Linked DNA regions of Homo sapiens: regions 1, 3 and 4 are each linked to region 2. The links are contacts of gene promoters, found by promoter capture Hi-C in human tissues and cell types (Jung and others, 2019). All regions are on one chromosome and are shown on one strand. The core of a region is centred on a gene start or on the middle of the fragment in contact, and the rest is flanking DNA. Distances in the headings are between cores, read along the strand shown.

Region 1 (3,200 bases), core at 358-2,857, 640 kb before region 2:
GACTTTGCAGATGTGACTAAAGATTTTGAAATGAGATTATCCTAGATTATCAGGGTGGGCCCTAAGTGTAACACAAGTAACCCTTTAAGAGAAAGATAGGGGCTGGGCACTGTGGCACACGCCTGTAATCCCAGCACTTTGAGAGGCTGAGGCAGGTGGATTGCTTGAGCTCAGGAGTTTGAGACCAGCCTGGCCAAATTAGTGAGACCCCCCCCCCCCACCACCCATCTCTAAAAAAGAAAAACAAAAAAAGAAAATAATTAGCTGGGCATGGTGGTGTGTACCTGTAATCCCAGCTACTCAGGAGGCTGAGGTGGGAGGATAGCTTGAGCCTGGGAAGTCAAGGCCACAGTGAGCCAAGATCAAGCCACCACACTCCAGCCTGGGTGACAGAGCAAGACTCTGTTTCAAAACAAACAAAAAACCAAAGAGAGGCAGAGAAGACGAGCAGAGGGCAATGTGACCATGGAGGAAGAGATTGGAGTGATGAAGCCACAAGCCAAGGAATCAGAATAATAATAAGTGTCCTGTGTGCCACACCAATGAGCTCTGTGGCCTTGGACAAGTCAATGGGGCTCTCTGGCCTTCATTTTCTCTTGCATGAGGGTCACATGGGCAAAGGACTTCTGAACTACTTCATCCCAAAGGGGTTTTATCACCATGATCTTTGCGGGGAGACGGGAGGAGGTTGGGCCCTTGGTTTGTCCTGGACCCATCATCTGTCAGGTGGGCTTCTCTGTGCTGCCAGAGAGCAGGGCCTCCCCTCTAACACCCCACGTGATGGTGGAATGTGCTGTGTGCCTGTCTGCCTCCCCCATGGACACTGGACAGTGACAGGTCGTGGTGGGTGTTCAGCGTCCTATGAACACGAGTTAAGGAAGAGCCTCCAGTCACCTGCCTGCAACCCAGGCCAGCTCCACATCTCCCTCCCTGCTGTCAGCATCAGTCAGCAGCCAGGGTGTCGGCGTCTGTCATTTAACCATCACAGGCAGGCCTTGGCGGGGGCGGGGGACTTTCATGTCAGGCATTCTGGCTGCAGGAACTCGCTTGGCAGCTGTCAGAGGGCGGTAACCTCAGGGGAGCTTGGCGACCGACCCTCCCTCCAACTCCCGGGGGCTGTTTCTCTGCACCCTTGGGGATCTGATGTGGGCTCCCTATTCCACCCCACCCAGTCTGGTGACAAAGGCTGCGTATTTACAGAATCTTTCATCCTAAGAGCTCAAAGAGCTCCATCACCAGGTGACAACCGCAGTTAAACTCATTTTATGGAAGAAGGCTACTCTGAGGAGTGCAGGCGTGGGATCCAGGTTACAAAGTGGGTCAGCTAGGGTGCCAGGAACACAACGTGGGTCCCTGACTGAGGGGGACAGTCTTAGGCATGCAGAGATTTGGCCAGACTCTTATGGGTGACTGTGCCTTAGTCACCTCTGTCCCCCACACCTATTACAGTACCTGGCTCCTAATAAATGCTCAATAAACGTTCATCGAGCGACTGCCTGACTGCAGCTTCCCAGTCTTAAATCACCAGCTCCCCAGTGTGGTTGCAGACGCAGATCTCCTGCAGGCCTCACCTGCACTCCTGGGGCCTCACCCCAAGGCCTCTCCTACTCCTGAGCCCTTACTCAGGCTGTGCCTCAGCCTGGAACGCCTTTCCTTGTTTCTCTGCCTGATGACATTCTAATCTTTTGGCCGGGTGCAGTGATGAATGCCTGGAATCCCAGCACTTTGGGAGGCCAAGGCAGGCAGATCCCCTGAGGTCAGGAGTTCGAAACCAGCCTGGCCAATATGGTGAAACCCTGTCTCTACTAAAAATACAAAAAAATTAGCTGGGCATGGTAGTATATGCCTATAATCCCAGCTACTTGGGAGGCTGAGGCAAGAGAATTGCTTGAACCCGGCAGGCAGAGGTTGCAGTCAGCTGGCACTCGGTAGGTGTAAGCTCCAATTAGCCGTCATTGTCACCAACACCCTGAGCACAGTAGCTGGCTGAGTGTGTGCTGCCCACATGGAGGAAGGCCTGAGCTGGCTGTACACTCACAAGGGAGGCTGGGGCAGCGCTGGAGCTCCCGAGGGCACCGATCCATGGGCCAGAACTCAGGGGCTGACATAGCCTGCTTGCCCCATGTCCAGGGTGTTCCTCCTGGACTCAGCCTCTTCATACATCCACCAGGTGCTCCACCTTCTGTGGGGACATTCTGGGCCAGTGGTCCAGAGAGCAGGCTTGGAATGCAGACACTCCTGGTGAACGACGTGGGCAGGTTTAACCTTTCATTGTCTTGATGTCCTCATCTGTAAAACGGGGATGATATCAATGTGTCTGTGTCATGGGAGCTCAGTACAGTGCCTGGCCCTGGGCAAGGATTGCTAACTGTCACTAACTAGCAATCAAGGCTATTTTTTTTTTATTTATAAGCATTTATTTATTTAGCAAATACTTACCGCTTGCCTGTTCTGACAATGTAAGACATGCCCCTGCCCTCCCGGGGCCCACTGTCTGGTGGAGAAGGCAGTCATGTGAGCCGATCATCACAACACTTCAGACTCGTGCCCAGGAGGGACACAGGGCTCAAAGGGACCCAGTGTGACTTTCATGGGCCCCCTCCTCCAGAAAAAGTATTAAGTATTGTGTTTTGCAACTATGTCAGTATCCACAAGCCGGCTAGGTTATATCCATTTTTTTCCCTTCTGATTAAACAAATAATTAAAACATTTATGTCGGCCCCTGAAAATTCATGGCCCTGGCCCTGGGCCTGCTGTGCCTAGTGGAGAGTTGGTCTGGCCCTGACTCTCGTAACCAGACTTGGGGAGTCAGAGAAGCTGCTGGAGAAAGAGACCTCTGGAGAAAGAAAGGGCAAGAGGAGGAGCCGGGGACAGAGGGGACAAGAGTACCAGGCAGAGGGGATAGCAGCGAGAGCGCTCAGCTCACTGGTGGGGAAGCTGCCAGATGAACCAGGCCCCCTGCGTGGAGACAGCTGGCAGAGCCGCCTCTGGCCATCCAGCCCTGTCACTGCAACCTCCAGCTCTGTCCCTTGGGCTAGCTGGAACGCCATAGCACAACCCGAGTGCCCCCGACCCCAGTAAAAACTCCCCGGTCTACCCACCTCTCCCTCCTGCAGGGCTGCAGCCCCCAACCCCTGCTCTGGTCTTGGCTTTTTTGTCTGTAGAGCAGGGGGAGTAATTGTCCTGCTCCCTTCCCTGCC
Region 2 (3,232 bases), core at 219-2,718:
ACTTCCCTCTGTCCTCCAGATGAATAAACTCCTGCCTGGGGCCCACTTGGTCAGAGCCTGTCCCTACAACCCCTTCATCTCTCTCCTCCAACTCTGTGCAAGCCACAGTGGGCTCCCGTGACAAGTGTGCTTTTTTTTTTTTTTTTTTTAAGACAGAGTCTCACTCTGTTGCCCAGGTTGGAGTGCAGTGGAGTGATCTCAGCTCACTCACTGCAACCTCCACCTCCCAGGTTCGTGATTCTCCTGCTTCAGCCTCCCAAGTAGCTGGGATTACAGGCGTGCACCACCATGCCTGGCTAATTTTTTGTAGTTTTAGTAGAGATGGGGTTTCACCATGTTGGCTGGACTGATCTCGAACTCCTGACCTCAGGTGATCCACCGGCCTCGGCCTCCCAAAGTGCTGGGATTACAGGCATGAGCCACCGCGCCTGCCCCCGGCAGAATGTCTTATATACATAAATGTTGTCCTCTCCAATTAAAATGTTAACATTTTAGGTTGGGCGGGGTGGCTCACACTTGTAATCCCAGCACTTTGGGAGGCCCAGGCAGAAGAATCGTTTTAGGCCAGGAGTTTGAGACCAGCCTGGCCAACATAGCGGTACTCCGTCTCTACAAAAAATGTAAAAGATTAGCTGGGCGTGGTGGCGGGCGCCTGTAACCCCAGCTACTCGGGAGGCTGAGGCAGGAGAATCGCTTCAACCCGGGAGGCAGAGGTTGCAGTGAGTCCAGATCACGCCACTGCATTCCAGCCTGGGCGACAGAGCAAGCCTCCGTCTCAAAAATAACATAACATAACATAACATAAAATAATAATAAAATGAAATGAAATAAAATAAAATAAAATGTTAGCTTTTTGAAGGCCTGTCCTGCTCGCTGCAGAACCCACTATAGAGCCAAGCAGGGTCACCTAGGTAGCATTTGCTGAGTGAATGAATTGTCCTCCCCTTACCAACTGTGTTCACAAAGAACCCTCAGGAGTTCAAGACCAGCCTGGCCAACATGGCGAAACCCCGTTTCTACTAAAAATACAAAAATTAGCCGGGCGTGGTGGCTCATGCCTGTAGTCCCGGCTACTCCGGAGGCTGGGGCAGGAGAGGCGGGCACCTGTAATCCCAGCTACTCGGGAAGCTGAGGAAGGAGAATCGCTTGAGGCCGGAAGGCAGAGGTTGCAGGGAGCTGTGATCGCGCCACTGCACTCCAGCCTGGGTGACAGAGTGAGACCCTATCTCAAAAAATAATAAAGATGGGCGAGGAGCAATCGGCCCCGAGGAAAAGACAAAACAAAACAACAACAACAACAACAACAACAAAACGTGCAAGAGCGCGCCTGCGCACACGGTCCGCTACGACCCCCATCCCTCTTCGGGCGTGGGGTGGCGCTGGGCGCATGCTCCCCGGCAGCGCGGTCATCCTCGCCTCCTTCGGGCCGCTCTAGCCGCCCCACTCGCTGCTCTGCGGGGAGGCGGGCGCTCCCGCAGGGGTTCCTCCAAGATGGCGGCGCAGAGGAGGAGCTTGCTGCAGAGTGTGAGGAACAGGCCCGCTCTCTGGGCTTGGGGTTGGGAGCCTGGGCGGGGGTGCTGTCGGGTGCAGGAACGGCTCCTTCTCCGAGTTTGGACAGCCACCCTCTCCGTGGTGGGGTGTGTCAGCCACCTTCTCCTCTCCTCGGGCTGGCCCCCTCGTTCCCGAGGCCAGGGCGTGTGTGCGCGGCGGGCCCGGCCCCCGGGTCAAGGGCGCCGGGGCTGTGGGCTGCTGCTGCCGGGCGTCGAGGGCGGGAGCGTCCTGGAGCCAGAAGGGAACACGGCGGGCGGCAGCAGAGCTATCCGAGTCTCGAGCCCACTGCGACACCGAGCAGACGTGCAATGATAATAACAGCAGCATCCACAGTGTACCGCTTACTGCATCCCCGGCGTTGTGTTAATTGCTTTACATTTGTCAGTTTCATTTTCGTAGCAGCCCCCTGAGATAGGTGCTACTGTTATTCCTATTTGACAGACTGAGACACTGAGGTGGTCGTTTGCCTAAGGCCACACAAATGGTACGTATTGAGGCAGGATTAAAATCAGGCAGTGTGATTCCAGAAACCCCCTTAACCCCTGGGCTGTACTAAAGGAATGACCAGTGGTAGCTGTCACTGGGTTCTGGTCCTGGCTCTGACTGTGTCTCCCTCAGCCTCAGTTTCCTTCTCCTAAGGCGAGAGCGCTGAGTGGAAGAATTGTCTTCAGACTCATCCCTACCCCCGGTCTGGACCCTCATGGGTTTGGCGCTGTCTTCCAGGCCCTGCGTCCTCTGACGCGTATGTGCACATAGATGCACACACATGTTGGCACCATGGACTACTCTGACCTACCAGGGTAGGGTGCTGGCCTCCTGGGTCCTTCCTATGCATGGCACTGTTAGAATTGTCTATGGACTTGTCTGCCTCCTGTACTAGAAAGTAAACTCCGCCGGGCGCGGTGGCTCATGCCTGTAATCCCAGAACTATGGGAGGCTGAGGCGGGTGGATCACGAGGTCAGGAGATCAAGACCATCCTGGCCAACATGGTGAAACCCCGTCTTTACTAAAAATACAAAAATTAGCCGAGCGTGGTGGGGGCGCCTGTAGTCCCAACTATTCGGGAGGCTGAGGCAGGAGAATTAGCTTGAACACAGGAGGCGGAGCTTGCAGCGAGCCAAGATCGGGCCACTGCACTCCAGCCTGGAGCGACAGAGCGAGACTGTGTCTCAAAAAAAAAAAAAAAAAAAAAACGAAAGTAAACTCCTTGAGGACAGGGACCTGTGATCTCTTGTTTACCGCTGTGTCTCTATTATCTATCACCATGTGCTGGGCACTCAATAAATACATTTGTGAAAGGATGAGTAAAGGTTTGTAGCCAGGTCCAGTGCTCGCCCTTGGCGTCACAGAGGTGAGTAGACATTGGCTCAGGGATAACCTGGAACCAGAGCCTTGAAATTATTCTCCCAGGAGCACAGTTCCCAGGCCTCCCCAGTGGGGATTGCTGTCTTCCCCTCCACACCTTTACTACTCCTTTATTTTATTACTGCTGGGCACGTCTGTCTTGTTACCGAGTTGGCATTGATTTTAGACGGCTGGCCCTCTGCTTTGTAAGTTCCCAGAGGGCAAGGTCCCTGTATAACTGTCCCCACTCTAGTTAGCATTTGGGAAACGCTGGTTGGATTGTGACATTGGGAGGGAAAATTGTAAATGGTGCAGGCTGAGTTGGCTTGCTGAGAA
Region 3 (3,100 bases), core at 7-2,506, 530 kb before region 2:
GATTTGAGGTCAAATTCAAGTTGGATCCCCAAGAAAGGAGGGGAGCCATGAAGAACAAATCCTGAAAGACTGAACGGGGGAAGCTGGGGGCAGGGAGGCAGGTGGTCCCCCAAATCCTCTCCTTGTGCCCTGCCAGGAGGTGGGACCCCACTCACTCTCCCCCTGGGTTCCAACTCCCAGCACAGTCATAACAGCTCAAACAAATGCCCCCTTCCCATGGGCATCCCCCACCTGCCTCAGCCACCCCCTTTCCTGGAGCCCTAAAGGCATCCCCAGCCCCTGGTTTCAACAGGGAGGATTATCCCCAGTCCCAAAACCCTCTTGTTGAAGCTGATGCTGGCTGAGGCCTGCCATCAGGGGCTTCTGGGGGGGCTCACAACCACCCCCTGCCCAGCTGGGGCCCCTCTGAAAAGGCCGGCCCGCTTGGGCGGCCGCGTATCTGTCCCTCCCTTCCAGGCCCCGTGCTGTGCCGGGGCTGGGGGCCCGAGAGGGGGATGCTGCTGGGGCTGGGCCAGGTTACCTTCAGGAGGAAAGTTTTGGGTTTGGGTCCCCTCTTCTTGGGCCCATACAGCTCACGCTCCCTCTCCCTGCGGCCGAAAAACACCAGAGGTTAAAAAGAGCCCCTTCCCGGGCCCCACTCCGCGCTGCCCTCCCCGGCTCTCCCGCTTCCCCGCGCGGCGCCCCAGCCGAGCCTCGGCCTCGCAGCCCCTGCCAGCTTCCCCAACAACTCACTTTTGTTCGAAGGCTGCAATGAGCCGCGAGTCCAGGATGTTCTCCTCGGGCTCCCAAGTGCTGTACCTGCCGAGTCACAAACGCACAAAATCAGGATGAAGACCAGAGAGGGACAGGCACGCGGCGAGAGCAAGAGCGCGCACCCCCACCCCAGGCCCCGGTGCCCGCTGCCTCCCCTCCCGCGACGCCCCCGGACCCCGCGACACTCACTTGATCGCCCACCCCTTCCATTTCACCAGGTACTCGATGCGTCCCTGAAAAACAGAGGGGAGAAAAACGGGGGTGGGGGTGGGGAGGATGCGGGGACGCGAGGAGGCGGCGGCGCGGGGCTGGGCGAGGGAGCCGGGCTAGCGGGACCGCTTCGCCCCGAGGGCCCCCGGCCCCGGCCCCGGCTGCGGACAGCGGCGGCCCGCCCCGGGCGGCGGCTCACCTTTCGGATCCGCCGTTTGATGATGGATTCGGCCGCGAAGACCCGCTCGCCCACTGCAGACAGCTCCATCTTGCTCAGCGGCACCCACAGCCCATAATACTCCCTGCGCCCGCGGCCGGTGCGGCACCGCTCGCGCACGCGCCGCAGCGCCCAGGCCCCGGCGGGCGGGAGCGCGGCGGGGCGCGCGCTCGCGTTCCAGCTGCGGGCCGTCACGTGATCCTCGCGGCTGGCGCGCGGTTGCCAGGACCTCCCCCTCCCCCGGGGCGGTTGCTAGGGAAAGTCGGCGCTCGCGGGGCGGGGGCGCGCGCTGGCTCTTAAAGGGGCCGCGCGGGCGGAGGGAGCAATTGCCGGCCGACCCGATGGGTGCCCGGCTTGTGGGCACGCTGCGGCCTTACGCTTATCACCCCCCCTCACATCTTGCCGGCGCCCGATCGCTGACACCCTCTCCTTGCCTCTTAATCCCCACGCGAGTCTCGCCAGGCCCCGGGCGGAGAAGGGCTGTGGAGCCCGAGTCTCGCCGCCACCGCGCATCTCCCGCAGCAGCCTGCAAACAGTTAAATATGATGCAGCAGAAATGCAGTTGCTGTTGCCTTGCCAGGCCTTGCGGGAATTTCTTTAAAACATCGCCCCCCACCCATTATTTATGTATTCGTGGGAGGGTGGTTTTGTAACCAGTTCAGAAGAGTTAAAACAAAAACGCCACCGCAGGAAGGGGGTGTGCGGCGAATGGGGCCGAGGAAGGCCGGAGTGACCGTGGGCATCTGTCTGCGGCCGGGGTCTCGGGCGGCACCTGTCCTCGCCCAGGAGACCGGGGAGGATTCGGCGGGGCCGGTGTGGCAGTGGGGGAGGGAGAGGGACCGCGGGCAGGAACGGGCTCCCCGCACTCCGCCTTGGGCCCACAGCGGGTCATCATCTGGTCATTCGGCAGAAACCGCCTTCGCGGTCATATCTGTGTTTTCCGATTCCCAGCACCCCTCCCGGCCCCCCGACCTGGCCGCGTCCCTCTCCCCGCCCGCAGCTGCGCGAAGCTTCCGCCATTGCTCTGGGGAGCCCAGATCCCAGCTTCCCACTTGAGGAGGGGCGGGGGATCGAGCTGGGGCTGTCCAGGAACGGACACACAAAAAATAGCCCTGCCGCGCAAAACGCTCCACTTTTTAAATGTTGAAATTACTTGAACTTTATTTCCCATTATGTTAGTAGTCTTGTTCTTTGTAAAACAATTTTAAAAATACAGATAAAACAACTGTCCATAACCCCCATAAAACCATTGTTAACATCTTCACCAATCTTCCAGCCTCTGCTCTATGCGTACATAAACTCACGTACACCTATGTATGTATGTATATACATACACATACACATTGTCTGTAGATTTAATTTTTTAACAAAATGGGATCACGCTATTCACACTGTTCTGGAATCTGCTTTTCTCCCTTAATGCTATAAAGTGGACATCTTTCAGTGTCATTAAATACAGATTTCACCATCCTTCCAGTGACCACCTTGGGGCTGAGATGGGGTGGGGAGGAATGGGGATTGTGAAGAGTCAGGGTTGTGTCTTGCGAACATCAATGGCTCATTAGGAAAGATTTTTGCGTTTCTGTGCTACAATGCCAATTCTTGGGTTTCAAATCCACCATAGCAAAATGTTAGTCTTTTTCTCCCAGCAGATTTGTCCAATTATTACCTTGAGAGAAATCCCTCTCCTCACTTAAAATCAGTATGTTCCAGGGAAACAGCTATTTGCTGGCCAGCCCAAGGTGAGCTGCTGTGGTAAAAATAGAAATGTCCTCCTGGGAGATGTGGGTGGTGGTGGGTGAGCAGGTGAGAGGAGTGGGTATGACAGTGTGTGTGTGTTCAGGCTGACGGAGACAGGCGGGGGATGAAGCAGGTGAGTCCACTTGTTGATTCATTCAGCAGTGTTTGTGAGCCCTTGTG
Region 4 (2,973 bases), core at 336-2,835, 910 kb after region 2:
TGGAGCTCTCTGCCTGCCATCCCTAAGCATTATCATTTGGTTTCATGGCATGAAGTCAAAAATGATTTATTGAAATTGTAAAATCTGTTTGTGGACTGAATAATCTAAGCCCACTGATATCTACAGCTTTGGGCACTTTCAATGCTTCCTTAGGCTGATGATTCACCAGGTCCCCTTGTCCCCAAAGACATGATAGGTGCATGATAATAAATCTGAAATGGCATGTGAGAGGATATCTCAAAGGCAAAATCTCTACTTGCCTTTTTAGAGCTTATAGATCATGTTTTCCCATTTCCTTAGCAATCCCCAAAGTAATTGAGCTTGTCATTTTCCACTGCTTCACCATAATGTGCCTCTGAGCCAGATTTGTCAGTGGCTCCAGAAAAGTAAATGCCCTCTTAGCCTGAGTATGGAGGTAGTTTTGATAATATTCCCATTAGGCTGCATCACCCTGGAAATAATTTTATCCCTTCACAAGCAGCATCCTAAGAATAGATCAAGTGACCCAATATAGTATGTAAAATTCATTTGAGAAATAAGTAGACTGGTATCTCACTGATACCTAAAATTTTATTCAAAGTGCATGTTCTGTTAGTTCAAGGTAATTTTAAGCTTTTAATTATTTTCCTGCCCCATAGCATATAAAATGCATGATGGGGGCAGCGACAAAACCACTGAAGTGCTCTCAGGAAACCAGTTACAAAGGATTTGCTGTTCTTCATGTGTGAGGCCACGGATCCCAGAGCTGCAGAGTTCATTGCTGGTCTTGTGCTGGCAAAGACCCTAGGCGGGAATTCCATCTCATTGCGTTGGAATTTAAAGCAATTGCAGATGCTTTTCCCTCCAATGGACTCTCTGTTTACACTGCTGCTTCCAGCTAATCTAAGCCTGATCAGCCAGCCCTTAAGAACCTGGGTGGATAGCATCAGTAGAAATTTAGTTAAAACCTTCTTATGTGCTACAAATGGTTAGAATTTTCCCCATTTCTCACTCTTGAGTCGTTAGCATAGAAACTAGGGATAATGGTCAGATTCCTAGTATGTGAACGTTTCATTAATTTCATAAGACCATGGAATTTTAAAACTGAAAGGAACATTCAAGCATGAGAACAATCCTGTGTGCCTAAGTGAGGAACTGAGAGGCTCAGAGAGGCGAAATGACTTGTTGTTGGTCATGCTGCTTAGTAATTCTGTGCTGAGTCTCGAATGCAACCTCTTATTCCAGTGCTGTTTGTATATACTCCATCAGCTTCAGAAGACTGTTTGCATTCCAGCGAATAAAAAATAGACAAGTTCTATTCATAGGAGTTATTCTGGATGATTTAATTTCCTCTCTTTTCTCAGGCGCTATAGTGGCCCCTGGTAAAACCCGGGGAGGGTCACCGTACAACCAGTTTGATATCATCCCTGGTGACACACTGGGTGGCCATACGGGTCCTGCTGGTGATAGCTGGTTACCTGCCAAATCTCCACCAACAAATAAAATCGGAAGTAAATCCAGCAATGCCAGTTGGCCTCCAGGTATTGTCTAGGAAATGCTTTTCCCAGGATAGCATTTGTTTTGTAATTGTCAGTTTCAGGTTCAGAATACATTGCTTTTGTGATTCATGTTACTAAGGTACTTGCTTTTATTTTTTTCATTCAATAATTGTCTGTTAGAAGCAAGGCATGTGCTGTGGGAAGATAGAAAATTTTCATTAGATGGGGAATCTGGGGATAAGTGACATTGTAGGTGGGACTTTGCATTCGTCCCATGCATAGGATGCCTTGTAACATGGGTTCTTTTGAAGTGTCTGTTGAATTGATTTGTTAGTTCTTAGGCAAGTGTGTATTACCAGTTAGCTTCTAGGTATGCAGTAGCGATTGCAATGAGATTATTTGTTAATTCTTTTCTTTCTGTCCCTCCCTTTTGTTGGATATAGTAATCTATTCTCATGATAGAAAAATGAGAACATTTAATAAAGCAAAAATTAAAATCAGTAATTCCATAAATATATATCCTCCTAGACCTCTTTCTGTGCATGCGTATTTGTGACATGAATATGTATAGTTTCGTTTTATTAAGGTAGAATTTTTTTTTTTTTTTGAAAGGGAGTTTTGCTCTTATTACCCAGGCTGGAGTGCAGTGGTGCGATCTTGGTTCACTGCAAGCTCTGCCTCCCAGGTTCAAGCGATTCTCCTGCCTCAGCCTCCCAAGTACCTGGGATTACAGGCGCCTGCTACCACGCCTGGCTAATTTTTTGTATGTTTAGTAGAGACAGGGTTTCGCCATGTTGGACAGGCTGTTCTCAAACTCCTGACCTCAGGTGATCTGCCCGCCTCGGCCTCCCAAAGTGCCGGGATTACAGGCGTGAGCCACCACGCCCGGCCAAAGTAGAACTGTATAATGCAGATCGTTCATATATAATACACATTGCTCTTTCTCATCACGATTTGGAAAATAAAAGTTTATTGTGTCACATAGCCTTAAAATTTTAAAATGATTTAAATTGACCAATAAAAAAATTCCGAGCCCTTATGTATATTCTAGGCTTTCTTTTGCTAAGCTAAATTATCCCTGCTGGTTATCCCTGGACATTCTGTGTAGCAGTATCATTTGTATTACATTTTTTGCATTTTGGCCAACATCTCGTAAGGAAAATGAGAAAGAGCACTGATCTCTAGCCCATATTTTCACCGGTTCTTGGCCTAGATGCTGGGATGATTCTTGTGAACACCAGAGTCCTTACTCCTGCTTTCCCTGCCTTCAGCCCTGAAGTCTCCTGGGAGCAGGAGGATCAGGTTACTGGGGACAGGCTCTGATGAGCTGTGGCTTCCAGTTGACTGCCACAGACAGTGTGATAAAACAAAGGTGCTGTTGGCAAGAGTATGTTCATGGTGATTTTTTTTTCCTTAATTTTGTGATGAAAATCTAAGAGACAATAAATTCAGTATTTATACTTTTCACAGACCCATTTCTTATGTCAAAAAAAGT

Evidence for each region. Contacts are between HindIII fragments. The study calls those that stand out against the background at their distance.
Region 1: a fragment that was not itself captured here is called in contact with the fragment with the promoter of TAB1 in region 2 in 1 of the 25 tissues and cell types used here (dorsolateral prefrontal cortex).
Region 3: the fragment with the promoter of CBX6 here is called in contact with the fragment with the promoter of TAB1 in region 2 in 1 of the 25 tissues and cell types used here (hippocampus).
Region 4: a contact is called between a fragment that was not itself captured here and the fragment with the promoter of TAB1 in region 2, in 1 of the 25 tissues and cell types used here (bladder).

Annotation. Positions count from the first base shown.
Region 1 is chr22:38,757,731-38,760,930 of GRCh38, forward strand. No RefSeq gene overlaps it. Among named protein-coding and RNA genes, the nearest start is that of SUN2, 3.3 kb to the left of the region's middle. RefSeq lists enhancers at 2,486-3,200, 3,141-3,190. The HindIII fragment of the contact is 9,654 bases long and covers 1-3,200 here.
Region 2 is chr22:39,398,312-39,401,543 of GRCh38, forward strand. It overlaps TAB1 (TGF-beta activated kinase 1 (MAP3K7) binding protein 1), which reads left to right and starts at 1,469. Exons shown (of 11, transcript NM_006116.3): 1 at 1,469-1,524. The coding sequence starts at 1,492. RefSeq lists an enhancer at 1,408-1,527 and a silencer at 1,688-1,827. The HindIII fragment of the contact is 8,049 bases long and covers 1-3,232 here.
Region 3 is chr22:38,870,960-38,874,059 of GRCh38, forward strand. It overlaps CBX6 (chromobox 6), which reads right to left and starts at 1,257. Exons shown (of 5, transcript NM_014292.5): 1 at 1,163-1,257; 2 at 943-986; 3 at 733-798; 4 at 521-587. The coding sequence starts at 1,231. RefSeq lists silencers at 879-928, 1,029-1,178, 1,209-1,468 and enhancers at 1,463-2,013, 2,014-2,563, 2,400-3,100. The HindIII fragment of the contact is 23,948 bases long and covers 1-3,100 here.
Region 4 is chr22:40,309,474-40,312,446 of GRCh38, forward strand. It overlaps TNRC6B (trinucleotide repeat containing adaptor 6B), which reads left to right. Exons shown (of 23, transcript NM_001162501.2): 17 at 1,344-1,520. Among named protein-coding and RNA genes, the nearest start is that of ADSL, 36 kb to the right of the region's middle. The HindIII fragment of the contact is 7,129 bases long and covers 1-2,973 here.